2 separate regions of the Homo sapiens genome follow, and region 2 is linked to region 1. The links are contacts of gene promoters, found by promoter capture Hi-C in human tissues and cell types (Jung and others, 2019). All regions are on one chromosome and are shown on one strand. The core of a region is centred on a gene start or on the middle of the fragment in contact, and the rest is flanking DNA. Distances in the headings are between cores, read along the strand shown.

The links. Contacts are between HindIII fragments. The study calls those that stand out against the background at their distance.
Region 2: a fragment that was not itself captured here is called in contact with the fragment with the promoter of SRP14 in region 1 in 1 of the 25 tissues and cell types used here (liver).

What each region holds. Positions count from the first base shown.
Region 1 is chr15:40,037,931-40,040,881 of GRCh38, reverse strand. It overlaps SRP14 (signal recognition particle 14), which reads left to right and starts at 1,701. Exons shown (of 5, transcript NM_003134.6): 1 at 1,701-1,789; 2 at 1,934-2,006; 3 at 2,488-2,600. The coding sequence starts at 1,766. SRP14-DT (SRP14 divergent transcript) reads right to left here and starts at 1,571. Exons shown (of 3, transcript NR_040060.1): 1 at 1,434-1,571. It overlaps LOC124903471 (a long non-coding RNA gene), which reads right to left. Exons shown (of 2, transcript XR_007064596.1): 2 at 2,473-2,951. RefSeq lists a silencer at 1,498-1,707 and enhancers at 793-1,737, 1,788-1,967, 1,988-2,037, 1,738-2,683. The HindIII fragment of the contact is 11,754 bases long and covers 1-2,951 here.
Region 2 is chr15:39,901,881-39,904,831 of GRCh38, reverse strand. All of the region lies in intron 1 of GPR176 (G protein-coupled receptor 176), which reads left to right. Among named protein-coding and RNA genes, the nearest start is that of GPR176, 17 kb to the left of the region's middle. The HindIII fragment of the contact is 3,146 bases long and covers 1-2,951 here.

The DNA.
Region 1 (2,951 bases), core at 452-2,951:
TACACAAGGTCATCAGCCTAGGGCAGGAAGTGGGCAACGGGCGCTGGCCATTTGGAAGAAAATGTGAAATCAGAGAGTGAACATATTTAAGCCATTAAGTTTGAATCTCCTAACTGGGCTCCTCATTTCCTGCCCTGTCTCTCTACAGTGCATTCTCCACAACACAGACAGGGGGATCTTTAAAAAATATAAATCAGATTTTCAGTGTTCTGTTGAAAACTTCCTTAACGAGTCTTCTCTTTGTATCTAGAACAAAATCCAGGCTTACTATGGTCACGGGCCCTACATAATCTGGTCCCCAGCTACCTCTCCATACTCCTTTACTCCTTGCTCCACAAGCCCTCCTCACCCCCACCCGCACCTGCCAGTCTTACAGACACAGGGCAACTTGTTTCCCCTTTGAAGGTTTTGCTCTAGCCGTTCCCTGTGTCTGAAACACTGTGTCCCTAGATCTTTGGATGGCTGGTCCTTTCAGCTTTCAACTCAAAGTTCTCCTTTTCGACGAGAACTCCCCTGACCCCAACCCAGGCAGTCCCCTTCCCACTCTCATTATACAGCCCTGCTTAGGCTGTCTCACGGAATTCATTATCTGAAGCTGTACTACTTACTTGTTTGCTTCATTGTTTATTTCCTCCCTGCCCCTTTAACCCAACTTCCAGGAAACCAGGAACTTAGCTTTTCTTATCCTGCTGCATCCCCAACCTCTACAACCGTGCCTGGCACAGACTGAGAGGCACTCAGCGAAAACCTCTTGTGTGGTGGAATGCTTGACTTTATAGAGGGCCCAGGGTTCAAGTTGGCTAGTGGCAGAGAGGGCTTACAACCTAGTTCTCCTGACTAATCAGAGGTAGAACTAAAGACTGGGCTCCAGCCCCTCATTTTTTTTTTTTTTTTTTTTTTTTTTGAGACGGAGTCTCGCTCTGTCTTCCAGGCTGGAGTGCAGTGGCGCGATCTCAGCTCACTGCAAGCTCTGCCTCCTGGGTTCACGCCATTCTCCTGCCTCAGCCTCCCGAGTAGCTAGGATTACAGGTGCCCGCCACCACGCCCGGCTAACTTTTTTGTATTTTTAGTAGAGACAGCGTTTCACCGTGTTAGCCAGGATGGTCTCAATCTCCTGACCTCGTGATCCACCCGCCTCGGCCTCCCAAAGTGCCGGGATTACAGGCGTGAGCCACCACGCCCGGCCCAGCCCTTCTGGCTAGAGCTGCAGGTCAGCGTTTAGGGAGAGTTTAAAGGATCTCTACAGGAACTTATAATGACAATAATGAAAAGAACAATAGCTGATACCTACTGAACACGCTCTATGTGCCAGGCACTGTTCTACGTATTTAATCTGAGTTTCATTTACGCTTCACGACCACACTGCGCGGTAGATACTATCATTACCCTTACTTTATGGATAAGGAAACTGAGTCACTGAGTTGTTAGGTTACCTGCCCAGCATACAGCTGAATATAAATCGTACGCTGCTATCAAAACTTTCTTTTGCTCTCACTCCGTCACACTGGCTGGGGTGAGACGATTTCTCGCATGTGACGACCCAGGACAGCCCCAGCGCCTCCGGGTCACAGGCCCCCGGACGTCCCAGGGCGCGGGCGCTAGGCGGGCGGGGAGGGGGGAGGGCGCAGGCCGGGATTGGTGGAAGAGAAGAGATTGGTGGAAGACAATGGAAGTCTAGTAGCGGAAGTCCCGCCCAGCCTAGGCCGAACTTCCGGCTCTCACTGCTAGGGGCTTAAGCGGAGGGAGTCGAGCCAGCGTCGCCGCGATGGTGTTGTTGGAGAGCGAGCAGGTATGGCTAGGCCTGGCCGGCCGAGGGAAGGGGGCGGCTCAGGCGTTACTCGAGACCTGTGCCTCCTGCAGGAGGACCAGGGCCTTGACGCGGCAGGACGAGGATTTGGGGCTGGCTAACGGGGCTGGGCCTGTTGTTTTCCAGTTCCTGACGGAGCTGACCAGACTTTTCCAGAAGTGCCGGACGTCGGGCAGCGTCTATATCACCTTGAAGAAGTGTAAGCAGCGGGAGGGGAGCCGGGCGATGCTCCCTGGGTTCCCGGTGTCTGGGAGCCACCGGAGTCTGTCTGCCGCGGACCGCCGCCTTCCTCTACCTTTCCCCACCCTGTACTGAGCACATTCGGGGCTTCGGGCCCGGAAAATAGTAGGGATTGTAGCTGGCTCAGTCCCCAGCACTGAGCCGCCTAGGTTGCTTCTGGTAACAATGGGCCCCAAGCAGCCCAGGGCTCTTTGTCAGGGATCCCAGACGCCGCCACTTTGAGTGGAATTTAACGTGCTTCGATATTACATGTTTCCGTCGTGGAAATAATAGTTTCTCCAGGGTTTCGCCAGACCGTGATAGCAGATGAGGTGTTTAACAAAACTAGAGCAGCGGGGCTGGGTTAGGTCATCACTTACCCCACTCCTCTGTTTTAACTGTTTGTCTGCCGCTCAGCCACGTACGCGGCCGTGTTCACCAGGATGCATTTTTTCCTTCAGATGACGGTCGAACCAAACCCATTCCAAAGAAGGGTACTGTGGAGGGCTTTGAGCCCGCAGACAACAAGTGTCTGTTAAGAGCTACCGATGGGAAGAAGAAGATCAGCACTGTGGTGAGCTTAATTTCTAAGGCTGTCTTTTGAAATGTAAAGACTTGAACTTAACAGAGGATGGGGCGTTTCTGAACCAGGCTTTTATTTGTTTTTCCCTTTTGCCCTGTGTGGCTATTTTTGAGACCAGGACCTTCCTATACTTTAGTAGTGGAAACCTCAAGAATAAAATAAGAAGGTAGAGGTCAGACAGTCGTTAGTTCTGCTAAAGCTCTTGTGGAAATGAAAGTAGCATATTGGTCCTTATTCGTAGTACTGTAAGGAGCAGCTGGCATAAATATTTGATTCCTTAGCCCCTTACTGTGCTGGGCCTTCAATAAGCAGTTTCTTGGTACCAGGTGATGCTATTATTTC
Region 2 (2,951 bases), core at 322-2,821, 140 kb after region 1:
TGACTGTCTTGGACAAGCCCTGACGTGACCCCATGCCATTGCTCTCACACCCTGGTCTATACCCATTATACAGGACACATGCATTCTTTGCCCCCATAAGTTCGGGGAGTGCAGGCTGCCCACTGTAGCCTCTTCTTTGAGCAGCTTATCAGCCCATCTCTTGCTCTTCAGGTTTCTCAAACAGAAAACAATCACAAATTCACAGTGAACCCCAATTGCAGGGGACACAAATCAAATGTCTGCATGGGCTTGTTGAAAACCCCTAACCAGGCCTGAGGGCTTTGATGAGCACCCCCACCCTTCCTTCCTGGGTAAGTAGGACTCACAGTGCACCCACAGTTCTCTATCTATTCCATTATATCCTCCAGGTTGGTGAAGGTTTGAGTCTTATACCTCTTGACTACACCTGTGAAACATTTACATCTTGATCTGATATCTTACTTTATATCTATTATATCTTGATGCCTTGGTAGAATTTTCTGCTTCTGATTATCAAAAGCATGTGAACCAGAGCAACTCCATCTTGAACAGAAGCTGGGTAAAATAAGGCTGAAATCTGCCGGGCTGCATTCCCAGACAGTTAAGGAATTCTAACTTATAGGATGAGATGGGAGGTCAGCACAAGATACAGGTCATAAAGACCTTGCTGATAAAACAGGTTGCAGTAAAAAAGCCAGCCAAAACCCACCAAAACCAAGATGACAACGAGAGTGACCTCTGGCCGTATTCACTGCTACACTCCCACCAGTGCCATGACAGTTTACAAATGCCATGGCAACATCAGGAAGTTACCATATGTGGTCTAAAAAGGGAAGGCATGAATAACCCACCCCTTGTTTAGCATATCATCAAGAAATAACCATAAAAATGGGCAACCAGCAGCCCTTGGGGCTGCTCTGTCTATGGAGTAGCCATCCTTTTATTCTTTTATTTTCCTAATAAACTTGCTTTCACTTCACCCTATGGGATTCGTCCTGAATTCTTCCTTGCACGAGACCCAAGAATCCTCTCTTGGGGTCTGGATTGGACCCCTTTCCTGTAACACAATGACCAGACACTATGTTAATTTAGAAGCATTTTTCCCCCTACTTAAAATTCATGATGCAGTTTTGTTCAAAGTCTCCATATGCCTCTTCAACATCAGCATCTGCTTTGGCTGGAAGCAGTTTGGAGCCATCTCATACAGTTTTTTGGAGGCCCATCATCATTACTTAAACCTGTGTAAGATGCCACACTTAAAAAAAAAAACCTCACATATGATGTAGCCACTGAAAATATTATGCTAAGCCACAAGTAATCATTCTCATTTTTTTAGGACTGTTTTTCTTTCTTCTCCCTGTTTGTCTGGTTGCCATTCACAAATGCCATGACATAATAATATATGGATTTTTAAAGAGAGCTTATAAAACTTACAGTTGTGAACTCACACACCCAGGAATGATGAATAATTTGCTTCTTTTTAAAACGTACTGCATCAGATGACCTCTACAGGAAGCCCAAAGTAGCATGGACAGAGATAATTTCAGGTCATCGTGCCTTCTCCAAACAAAGTTCCAAATAATTTGTTATTTGTTTCGAATAAAGTACAGATGCTCCTTGACTTATGATGAGGTGTCCCAGTAAATCCATTGTAAGTTGAAAGTATAAGCTGAAAATGCATTTGGTACACCTAAACTGCCAAATATCATAGCTTAGCCTAGACTACTTTAAATGAGCTCAGAACACTTACATTAGCCAACAGTTGGAGAAAATCATCTAACACAAGGCCTATTTTATAATGAAGTGTTGAATACCTCATGTAGTTTATTAAATACTGTACTGAAAATATATTGCTTTTGCACCATGGTAAAGTTGAAAAATTGAAAGTGGAACTCTCATAGGTTGGGACCATCTCTAATTGAGAGAGTGCCTTGTATTAGGAGTGACTTTGTATTTTCTGAGCAAGAATTTTTGAGGACATCTCTGCCTTGTATAGAATATGTGATATTTACTCCCTGGTTCCCTGGGCATCCCTTGTGTGCTCATTTGCACCTTTAATTACAACTACTTTTTGTTGGGGCTTCCTGTGTAGTTTCTTAGGGCAAGAAACACTTTCAGAGGCTGCTAAATGGGAAGGAAAGAATAACTCTCTGAAGTCAACCTGAGTGTTAATTCAATTTCCAGGAACACAGAGTTCAAGCGAGACTCCAGCAGAGACAAAATAATCAAATCTCAGTTTTCAGACCCTTTCATTGATTGATGAGAATAGCACCTTTTGTATTTGACCTGTTGTTTCTGTGGCCTGCTCCCAAGGTTGCAAGTCTTTAGTAGCAATGAATCTACAAATGACCAGAAGCCTTAAGATGAAGCTTTCTGCGTCTGCCAGGTGAAAGGCAGGATTAGGGACTAGAGGGCTAACTGCCTGTTTCTCTGCAGGATGCTATTATTCTTAAGATTGGATGGAACTTTTCCCTGAAGAGTGTCAAATCATTTTTCTTGTTAATAACAAATCAATGGGCTCTAGCAGGTAAGGATCACACCAGGTGCTTGGGAAGGGTAAATTCTAGCCTGGCCTTGCTGCTGAATGGTGGGTTGAGTGCTGGTAAATCACCCTGCCTCTTTTGTGATTGTACTTGCAAGGCAGAGATTCTTAAACCTAGTATGCATAAAAATCACTTGTCAAAATGCAAATTATTGAGTTTCACCAACAGAAATTCTGTTTTAGTGGGTTTGACATGGGGTCTTGGAGTCTATTTTTTCGTTTTCTTTGAGACAGAGTCTCACTTTGTTGCCCAGGCTGGAGTGCAGTGGCACAATCTCGGCTCACTGCAACCTCTGCCTCCTGGGTTCAAGCGATCCCTCCACCTCAGCTTCCCAAGTAGCTGGGATTACAGACATGCACCACCACGTCTGGCTAATTTTTTTTTTTTTTTGTATTTTTGGTAGAAACAGGCTTTCAACATATTGGCCAG